Regions from separate parts of the Homo sapiens genome. Here all the other regions are linked to region 1. The links are contacts of gene promoters, found by promoter capture Hi-C in blood cells and fetal thymus (Javierre and others, 2016). All regions are on one chromosome and are shown on one strand. The core of a region is centred on a gene start or on the middle of the fragment in contact, and the rest is flanking DNA. Distances in the headings are between cores, read along the strand shown.

Evidence for each region. The method cuts DNA at HindIII sites, captures the fragments that hold promoters and counts their contacts. A CHiCAGO score of 5 or more calls a contact.
Region 2: a fragment that was not itself captured here is called in contact with the fragment with the promoter of TSHR in region 1 in 1 of 17 cell types (M1 macrophages); the score reaches 6.9 in M1 macrophages.
Region 3: a fragment that was not itself captured here is called in contact with the fragment with the promoter of TSHR in region 1 in 1 of 17 cell types (M2 macrophages); the score reaches 7.3 in M2 macrophages.
Region 4: a contact is called between a fragment that was not itself captured here and the fragment with the promoter of TSHR in region 1, in 7 of 17 cell types (naive B cells, M0 macrophages, M1 macrophages and 4 more). The highest score is 11.3, in naive B cells.

Annotation. Positions count from the first base shown.
Region 1 is chr14:80,954,340-80,957,039 of GRCh38, reverse strand. TSHR (thyroid stimulating hormone receptor) reads right to left here and starts at 1,419. Exons shown (of 10, transcript NM_000369.5): 1 at 1,190-1,419. The coding sequence starts at 1,359. It also overlaps a transcript of CEP128 not described here. The HindIII fragment of the contact is 2,816 bases long and covers 1-2,616 here.
Region 2 is chr14:79,011,618-79,014,317 of GRCh38, reverse strand. All of the region lies in intron 15 of NRXN3 (neurexin 3), which reads right to left. Among named protein-coding and RNA genes, the nearest start is that of NRXN3-AS1, 63 kb to the left of the region's middle. The HindIII fragment of the contact is 1,103 bases long and covers 802-1,904 here.
Region 3 is chr14:79,035,048-79,037,747 of GRCh38, reverse strand. The region is part of intron 15 of NRXN3 (neurexin 3); the gene reads right to left. Among named protein-coding and RNA genes, the nearest start is that of NRXN3-AS1, 39 kb to the left of the region's middle. The HindIII fragment of the contact is 8,428 bases long and covers 1-2,700 here.
Region 4 is chr14:78,964,555-78,967,254 of GRCh38, reverse strand. NRXN3 (neurexin 3) reads right to left here. Exons shown (of 21, transcript NM_001330195.2): 12 at 849-1,230; 13 at 1-47. Among named protein-coding and RNA genes, the nearest start is that of NRXN3-AS1, 110 kb to the left of the region's middle. The HindIII fragment of the contact is 1,569 bases long and covers 583-2,151 here.

The DNA of each region.
Region 1 (2,700 bases), core at 170-2,669:
AAGACTTGACTAGGTCTTGAAAGATCTGGTAGGCTGCACAAAAGAATTTTATTCTAGAGGTGACAAGCAACCTATGTAGAGGTGTAATCAAGAGGCCATTACACCTTTTACACATCTTATTCTGTGGTGGCAGCATGGAGAATGACTACCACACTGTTTGGAGGTTATTGAACTAATTAATTCAGGTGTGCTAAGACACTAGGATATCTCTGAGCACAGAAATATATCTCTGTGCTCAAATATTCATCTACTGTTAAATAGTCTTCATGAGCTAAATTCTTGAGAAAATCTAGAGGTGCAACTTTCCCATTTCTTTTCATCTATCAACATTTTCTTTAATAACCTGCATTTTTTTTTATCTTAACTGGATTTAACCAGCCTAGGTTGTTTTACTGTCCTTTCTTTCTGTTCTCTTTTTAACTAATCAAGACAGACTTTATTCCCTTGGTTTTGTCTACAATTTCAATGATCACTGATTTAAATTGCTGTTAAGAAACAGGTTGTGTGTGTATAATCTTATTTAACATCAGGTTTCTAATCTGGTAACATTTAACATGCAGATAAATGTACTATACTTTTATGAAATTTCATTTCTTTATACCTCTATCACAAAGCAGGGTTCTGGACGTACTATTTCACTGGCAGTTCACATTTGAGTAAGTAACTTACAGATACTGTATAGACAGTTCATTTTAAAAAGGGCCCCTGCTTAAACCTTTGTCAACAATTTGATGAATCAGCAGAACTGCTAAGATAACCTCCCATCTAGAGAAACAAAAAGGAGAAATACATATTTTTGCAATTTTTTATTACCCAAGGTAAGATCAAAAAGGTCAGTTCCTGAGATGCCATTATCCTTATTAATTCAAATAAAACAGATTCAACCAGGGTTAGGCAAAGTGCTGAATAGCAGCTTGTTGGAAAGAACAGCTCTCACGGTCATTGTACACCAAAGTTTTGTAACATTTTCCTGTGTTGGGAATGAGGATGTCAACAATGATACCTTCCCAAGTGTGGGCGATTAAGTTTTTAGCACACACACACATCTACACACACAGACATTCACTCACACATACACACACTCACACACTACTTCGGGCTGTTATTGAGCTGCTTTTGTGCACTTCGGGCCACCTCTGCAGATGCCCTTGATCTCTGGGTCCTACCCTGATCTCTCCCGGGTACTCACAGAGTCTGCGTACTGGGCGGTAAGCTGGGGATGCGTTGAATATCCTTGCAGGTGACTCTGAAGTCCTCCTCCTGATGGCACTCGCAGGGTGGAGACGAACACCCCATTCCGCCCAGGTCCCTGGGCAGGTCGAGCAGCAGCACCAGCTGCAGCAAGTCCGCCGGCCTCATTTTCCACGGGACTCGGGGCTATTTCTCCATCCTCCGAAATCGCCTCATTCTCAGCTCTGCACCTCGGGTTACCCCAGGCCAAAGGAGACCCGGGAGCGGGAGGGGTGGGAAGAGGGAGGGCTCCAAGGGGCTGTGACCTCACCACTGTGGAGGAGGCTGGAGAAGGGGAAAAAGAGGCACTTAAGTGCTCCGCTTCCCTAGGCAACCTTGACCCAAACAAGTCTGCTTGCTTCACTTTCCTTGGCTGGACCCACGCAGTCCGCTCCGTCTGTTCCCTGACACCCAACACCAGTCCTGGCTGTCCCCTCTGTTTTCCAGCCCGCCCCCCCACCCCGGGCGCCCCTCCCATTAGTTCTCTCCAAAGCCTAGTTTAGATGCCCCCTCCTTTCCTCCTCTTTAAATCCAAGGAGCCACCTTCCCTAGCGTGTAGCCTTCTAGACACCCTGTCTGCCTGGGAGCCACTCGCACGCACTCCTTATCCAGAGAAAGTCCCCGCGGAGTGGACTGTCCGCGGGCGGACCAATGTCCTGCAGAACTTCAGCTCCTCCTGGCCAGAGACACCTCTGCTGAGGGTCAGAGGCGGGCACGCAGCCCTGGCTAGCCCGCGGTGCGGCCGAAGCCGTCGCCCTGCACCCCTGGAGGATTCTCGTTGCTATCCAACTGCAGGGGCCACTCCGGTGGTTGAGTCGACTGGCAGCGGCCGCCTCACGTTGCAGCCCGCGGCTCCGCGAGGCAATTCAGGAACTGAACTTTGGGGCCATCTGCTGGGAAGAATCGGGAATGGCAGAAATAATTCCAGGTTCCCTTAATAATGGGTCCAGTATGGAAATTCTGGTCGACCCAAGAATTTCATTGAGTCATATTCCCCCTGGAAGATGGGAAGAAAAATAATACTTAAGTGGCATACTCACCATTCTTCGCACAGTAGCCAAAAAGATCATTACAAACATAAATCAGATTGTGCCTATTTCCTTCTTAAAAGTCTTCAATCACTTATTCCTCTTGGGATAAAAGGAATGTCAATTCCTTCTATACTGCATAATTCCTTTTATATGAACTTGGCTAGGACAGGAAGGAAAAAGTTGTGGTTATGGGAATCAGAATAAAGGTTAGGAAAGATTGACTAGAAAAAGACAGGAGGGAACACACAGGGTTTCCATATCGTAATTAGGCTGGAGGTTAAGTGGATGTATACATTTATCAAAATTCATTAAACCGTACATTTAAAATATGTGTATTCCAAATTTTACAGAAGCTTTATTCATAACCACTAAACGAACCAAGTGTCTCGCGACTAGATAATGGATAAACAAACTCTGATACCTCCACATTGGAATACTA
Region 2 (2,700 bases), core at 104-2,603, 1.9 Mb after region 1:
GTACATAGAGATACAAAGAAGGGAATGACAGGAACTATGGCTTTCTTGAGGGTGGAGGTTGGGAGGAGGGTGAGGATTGAAAAGCTATTGGGTACTATGTTTATTATCTGGCTAACAAAATAATCTGTATGCCAAATCCCTGTGACACGCAATTTACCTAAGTAAGAAACCTGCACATGTACCCCTGAACCTAAAATAAAAGTTTAAAAAAAGAGAGGTCCCACTGCTCCTTGCCATACAGAGGTTTTTTACTTCTCAGGCCACTTTAGTGAATGATGGTGCCAACCATCTTTGATTCTGACTAAGACTTCATACAAAGTCTTAGAGAAGAACCTTTGATTCAGTGTCCTTTGAGAAGTCCAGGTGTTGTAAACCCCATGACAGTAGGGAAGATTTTTGTTTTGTTTCCCATTTTATCTCTGTTGCCCAATACAGACAGCACTTACCATGCAACAGGAATTTTATAACTAGCTGATGAACAAACTCATAAATGAATCTTATATTTTGCCTAATATATCAGTAAAAATAATAGTTATGAATGAATGTGTGAAAACCAACATTCACTTTAGATCTATAAGCCACGTAAAGTGGCTACTTATAGATTGTCATGGGTCTGGTGATTAACAAAGTGTTGATTTCAAAAAATAGGCAAATTCTGTAAATATAATAATTACCTGAATTATTAAAGGGAAAGCAAAGTCAGTCTAATAAAGACCCTGACTTAGCATTTCATAATCAACAAGGTGACTGGTAAAATCTAATATGAAGAGAAATGCATTCAGGATTGCAAAGACAAAAGCTTCTCTGGGAGAAGTTAATAACCCCTGTGAGGGCATTGTCTACCCACAGAAAGTAAAGTGGGCTGTTACTGGGATATTGTTTTTGTTGTAGCAGGCACTGAAAACCAATATCATGTAAGTAGTTTTGGTGCACATAGAATGAGGCATAAAATTGGCCTGCTTTAAATCTTGCCACTCCAACAAAGAAAACCAGAGATAGATACACATAGAATAAATTCACAATGGTTACAGTCTAAGGTGTAAGTCATTATTATATTCATGCAGGAAAGACATTTTGACCTTCTGTAAGATAACATTTTAATGTGGGAAGAATTCACAAGCAGTGATGGGCTTTAAGCAATTCCAGAACCCTTTCTGAATTGCTGGAATTTCACTTACATATACTTAGTAAATGAATTTCATACAGGCAAAGCTGAAAAGTCCCATAGCTAAATCTGTACCACCATGCCTCCTACTTCATACATACACATACACCATGTGTTTCGCTACCACCTTCAAATACAGCAAGTCAGGCAGAGAATGCAGGACTCAGAGTTAGTGTCAAAAAACATTACTATAAATTTCTGCTTGCAAAATGCTGAAGAAAATATGCTTAGCAGGGTTAAATGAGTATGGTAGCAGAACTAAACCCTTCCAAGGCCTCTCTGTCCACGGTTTGATGGGGGGAAATGTTGAAAGTGACAAGCAATCCTTAATTATACCAAGGATCTCATCTGCTATTGTATAATCACTTCCTCGGTCGCATGGAAAGCTCCAGAAGGAAAGTCAAGACTTAAAATTCCCACAAGGAAAGACCATGATAGATGGTCAGTCTGCACAGATTCTGGATCCAGATGGTCTTCTGGGGAAACACACCTGTGTCTTCTGGAAAGTGGAAGTGAATGGCATGCCTTCTTAGAGGGTTACGTGGGGAGCAAGTGACAGCCTTCTTCAAAGTCTCTCCTATACCTTCTAGAAAATAGATCATGCTCAATTTAGTACTCAAAGTCCCTGATTCTGGCTTCTACCTATGGCCCCAATTTCCCACTCTTTCCACATATGCATTATTATGCTCTAGATTACTGGACTTCTGCAATTCTCCATAATCACCATGGGCCTAAAGCTTTTCTACATTCTACTATTTCTGCCTCTTTCCTTTCCTCTCTTCTCAGTCTAGTCATTCTTCTAGACTCATTTTACCTTTGTCTTATTAGCTGTTCCATCTTAAATGTCCACTTAATGTTCTTCCAGGCCACCCCACTCACTTCAGTAATCTGTGCCAACGTGACCTTGGATACACTATCTTTCAGCCATCTCTTAATCTTTGTCTGTAGGCTCCTTAAGGGATTTAATATATGTTTCACATCACCCTGCACCTGCTCAGCACATAGTAGGTATTCAGAAGTAGGTATAAATAAATATTATTTCATGGAAAAGCCATTTAGTGAATTTTTCTATCACTTACTACTATCTCAGGTTATAATTTTAGAAAATTCCTTCTTGATGACAGGAATGTCTTCACAACAGTCAACAAATAAAATTCTTGCATGGTAATGGAATGAGTCAAATCAGTGTACATTTGTAGAATGACTGATCAGTTTTATTGAATTTGGAATAATGTTATTTATTCTCCCATCGAACTGCTTCCTTATGACCCCAGTCCTCTTTGATGTAAACATGTTTAAAACATTGTTCCTTATTGTTTTTGTCCACACTGATGTTAAGGTGTTAAGAAAATGACATGTTGGGCTGTGTATACATTCCGGGGCGATCTCATAGCCAGTGTGCTTAATATGAACACCCAAATGACATGGTTTTAGTCACTTCCTATGACTTGCCCCGCTCTGTAGGAGGAAAGACTGTTGTAAGTGTAGCCTGTGGAGACATGCTGAGAAGATAACTCACTAGTTCCATTTATTGA
Region 3 (2,700 bases), core at 51-2,550, 1.9 Mb after region 1:
TACGCCCACTGGCCTTGGCAATGGCTCTTAGCTCAGCTCCAAGAAAGTCAACTTAAAATGACACACTCTTTTAGGAGTGAATCTCCTCTCAATGTGGCACTAGGGAGAGGGAGAATACTGAGCAAGGAGGAAGGGAAGGTGTCAGGACACTCTATTCTCTAAGATGGGTAGAGGCCACTAATCTCCTTTTTCTTTAGAATTAAAATGCCTTTGCAGGACAACCTCCATCCTTGCTTCACCCCGATTTTAAGTGACCAGAAATCATCCCTTTTATTTTGCTTCTAATTGGCATAAATGGTGGAAAATTAAGAAGGGAGGAAGTGGTACTCAGATTATATGTGGCTGTCATACACCATGATAACAAAGATTTGCCTAAAAAACACAGGGGAAATGGGCTACAGGTGCTCTGTAAACTACGGAAGCAGGTCTTGTAGCTGAGAGCTTTCTGCCTGTGTATTTGAGCATGTGTGCACATGCGCGCACTTTTTATCTCAGCTTTGGTTGAAAGCAAGGCATTCAACAGGAGATTTGTCAGGCTCAAAGGGTCCTAATCTTTAGGTGAATCTTCCCTGATATCTTATAGAATCTCCTGGGGGTTTTACATAAGAGTCTGTTTCTGGATGAAGAAGCTAGAGCACTCCCTTCCTCTTTCCTCTTCTCAGAAGAAAACATTATTTTTAACCCAGGTGAATTATAAACAAATATGGTCCCATTTAACAAGAAATTAGGAATTCAGAGTAAATCAAAGGTACTAGAAGTTAGGAAAAGGAATTGAAATAGTGGTCGGCAATTGTTTCAGACACTTTCAAATATTTTTATCCCTCTAAGAGAAGTGGGTGGAAATTTTGTCATTTATAAGGTACATCGAAATTAACCCAAGGAACTCCACCTGGTCCCGCCTTCCCTTCCATTCATTTTGGTAGTCAACAATACTATAAAAATAGTCATCATGCCTTTCCCCCATACACCTCATTATCTATCCTTCTTAGTATACATCTTGAGTAATGCAATTTACTTCAACGTCACCAAGAAAGCCAAGTTCCTTCGGGACTGTCGTTATCATAAACCACAATCTGCTACCAATTTATCTGTCCTTAGCTGCTCCTTGTTGTAACTTCCTTAAAAAAAAAAAAAAAAAAAAAAAAAAAAAAAAACCCAAAACGAAAACAATACAATAAAATAATGATGAAGCAGTTTAAGTCCTGGTTTCTGTTCACTCCTGGGACTTTTCCATTTTAGTTGTTGTTTTGTTTTTGTCACAGTATTCACCCATAACTCATCTAGGAAATAAAACTAGAGATGAATGGAGAACATACCATTCCATGTCCTCCCCCTCACGCAAGTCTACATACACCAGCACCATGGTGAAGTATCTATCATACTCTCGTTTTACTTGTGGAATATTTTTTTCTTATTTTTAGAAAGGACATTAGAACAAGATCATATATAAATTTAAGGCAATCAGTCATGGTGTTACTTTAAAAGAGGAAGACGATTGGTGCTTTGAAATTGTGTTATAAGAAGTTGGAGGTGGGGGGGAAGTATCTTGCTGAATACCATATAAACAACCAACTGAGTTCTGAATAATTACAGAATTATATTTCTCTTACATGGCCTAATGCATTTAACAGTGTGGAGTAAAATGCAACTGTCCTCCAACAAGGAAAAACTACCATGTAAAAACTACGATGTTTTTCTGATTTCAAGAAGAAAGTGACAGCATCAAGATGAATGATATAATGGATGATTAATTTTTCCTCCTGAAAAGATTTAAATTCCAACCAATAGGGTTATTAACTAGATACTAAAATTCTACTGTTAGCATTTAAAATACCTACACATCCACATTTTATATTTGTTTATAAAGTAGTGGGGGAACAGTTAGTTCCATCCATCCCCCACAAACAAAAATAAATTGAGAAGGATGCATTTTACATCCAACTAGAAGTAGCAATACTTAGATATAGAAGTAGAGGGATGAAATGTTGCAGAAAATCTCCAAGATTTATTTGGGTGAATGCCTCTGGGCTGGTGATTTTATTTCACACACACTTGTTCCACTGTGTAGAAACGGAAATCATATAATTTAGATTGAGTTAGATTCAGGTTTTAGGAAATTTGACCATGTGTATCTCTCAACATACAGAAAGGAAATATGGTACAGTTATGGATCTAAACCCTTTGGGTTTCTGAGATTAAGATGCTGTATAAGTATATAGCATATTTTACCAAAAATCTATGATTTCTATGAATATGTGCATGTAGGTGATGGACAGAAATAGGACCTTTTCTTTTCACGTGAATGGCTGTCAAAGGAGAATATCAGATACATTTCATGAAAAGACCAAATATGGCACGTTTTATATAATGAAAAGAATACATCAAGAACCTTGTGAAAATGAAAAATGAGACAAGGCTATAGAGTGAGGCCTATTAAAAGGACAGTCCTCACTTAAAATAATTTATCTTAATATCTTCATTCTTAACCACTGTACATGAATAAAACTTTGATTTTACCTATTTTCTGTCAAATTTATCTTGCCTGCTGGCATTTTTCAATTTACCTCTGATAGAATGGACTTAACAAATTAGCTTCCATTTAAAAAATAGGTTTACATTTATAAGAGGAAAGGGCCTTATAAAAGTGTAAAAGAGCTAAAGTTGAAATTAAAGTTGATATCAGGATTTGTTAGTTCTGCC
Region 4 (2,700 bases), core at 118-2,617, 2.0 Mb after region 1:
TGATCACATTGGGACCGTTTCCGAGGTCAAAAACGTAGTGTATATACCTAGGAAGAAAAAAAAAAAAAAACAATAATTGGAAAATCCCCGAAGTGGTTTAATGGCTATATGTGTGTAACTGACATAGTGGGCTTCAAATCCCCCATGCTAAACTGGCATAATGCAGGAATAATTTAAATCTTGATATGAGGTTACAAGAATAGTCAGATTTTATTCTATCATGCTTCACTATAATTCCATACTCATCGAGTCCACTTCATTAACACTACCTACTAATACTCTCCAGAGTCAAAGTAGCACAGGTTGTACACTACAAAACATAAGGGGGTGACTTTTAAATTCATCATCAACCATTAATCTGTTTTGGTTTTTGTTTTGGTTTTTTGTTTTGACTATTTTCTAATACATGGTAGTAAAATGTCTTGAGGAAAGGGCAGCTTCTAAAAACTTGCATATATGGGCTAATGGTAGGATTTAAAATATTTATGTTTCATCTTTTGGTATAAATTGGGTGGTTGTAGTTAGTAATACTCAAGAATTAGATGCAATACAAATCATAGCCCTCTTTTGCAAAAATAAGCTTTTCTTCAATAGTTTTAAAGGGCTACATTTCATAGGAAAAAGTCTGTTAGTGTTGAGTTAGTGGAAGACCTTTAAATTAAATCATGAGCCTCTCTCCTTTCCAGACCTAATAATTTTATGGATCCATTTAATCAAGGAAGATGCGAGAATGTGTCAGGAATGGAGGGTAGGGAGTAGAATAGACAAGTTATTTTTATGTCCATATTTTACGTAGAGCTTCAGTAGATTAAAGGTGTCCAACATAAGTCGTGATCCCTTCTACTTACCCCTTGACAAGCTCGACTGCAATGAAGTCATTGCCATCACCACTATTGAAGAGAATGAAGCCATCTGGTGAGGTGGTCTTGAACTGGAAGAAGAGGTGCATGGAGGTGTAAGCCTGAAGAGTGGCAAGGCTCAGGTAGCTGCTCTTGGTCTTAAAGGTGACAGGGTCAGCGATGATGTTCCTCAGTCCAAAACGAGCCTTCAGCTCACAATAATCAATGTCACCATTTTTGCACAAGTCAATGTAGAGAAGGCCATTAAACATGAGGCTCTGCAGATGGCCAATAAAGCTGGAGGGGACAACGGAGATGTAGCGTTTCTCAGTCATGATTCCCGTTTCAATGTTGTGGAACTCCAAACGGGTATGGTCTCCCACCATTGTACCTGTGAAAATTGTAAATGAGGTACAAACAGAAAAGTTACCATCATTTATCACAGCACCCTCAAGTATATTTTTTGGGTGTAACCTGTTTCCACACAGAATATTCAGCTTTCTTGGGTGAGTTCAAGAAAACCAAATATTCAATATGGTAGATACCTTACTTGGCCTCAATCAGGCATTGCCCAAATTACATGCTGTCACGCAGCTGCTCAGCACGGCTCATCATATAAGGGGAAATATGAGGTCATGAGTAACCCAGGCTAAAGGATAAAACTATTGATATTCTCCATTCAGGAGAATCACTGGACACTAATACACACTATAAGAAGAAAGGCCTTTGTTGCTCTGACCCTTGTAAAGACACAACACACAAGTCTTGGGCATCACTACCAAGTATTTTTTCTCGTAATAACTCTCCACTTAGTACTCGTGGGAAGGATTCTATTATAGACTTATCAGTTGAGTTTACCTGCCCAGCAACTGTTACTTTATCTTATAATAACACGTAATTTTTCTTTAGGAAGCTACCCACCCCTCTTGACCTTTCAACCACCTGGACTGGATAAAGTTGACCCTAATCAAGCTACTCAGCCTAGACCACTCAATGTACTTTACCCCCCTAACTGTCACAGACTTTGGACTACAGACTTAAAAAGCGGTCATTACACTTTAGGGTGTATCAGAATCACCTGGGGGGCTTAGGCCCTCAGAGTTTAGAATTCAAAAGTCTGGGGTGAGGCCTGAGAATCTGCATTTCTAACAAGTTTCACAGTGATGCTCTTGTGGCTGATTTAGGGACCACCCTTAGAACTGGCAACAACCCAAGCCATCCCGGCCACACTCAGTTCCAGAGCTCTTGCTGGTACACTTAGGAAAGAGGATTCTTTGCAAGCAAGGACTGCTGGAGGGGTAAGAAGAAAGCTTTGAGTCCCTAGAGGCTATAAGAAAATCAGAGGGATCAGAGGACTAGCAACCCAGAAGACAATTACCAAATGAAGAGAATCATCTGTGCTGTCCTTTGAGACTCTGGATCAAGCCAGGCACCTCCCGGCTTTTTCAAACTGTGTGGCAATAGACTCCCTTTCATGCTTAAAGCGTTTGAGTTGGGTTTCTGACATTCACAACGGAAATATCTTCAGCTGTTACAAATGAACTATTTAGAACTTGTATTACCTATTTTACCTAGAAGTGGTGAGTGACTAGGGCAGAGGGGATAAGGAGGGCTTGAAAAAAAAATACAAAGAGACTGGAAATTTTAATAACAAAATAAAGAAAAACATCATTAATGTGGCCAGAGTAGAAATTGGCTTCCTCAACATTTATATAGAAAAATCATGTTAAAACATAACAAACCATGTTCTACTGCCAAGCATTAGAGGGGGAATTCTTTCTTCCTGTCCTCTCTTGTTACCTTCTACATTGAAAAAACTCCATTAGCAAGACTGATAGCATCTCTTTATTTCCTCTTTAAC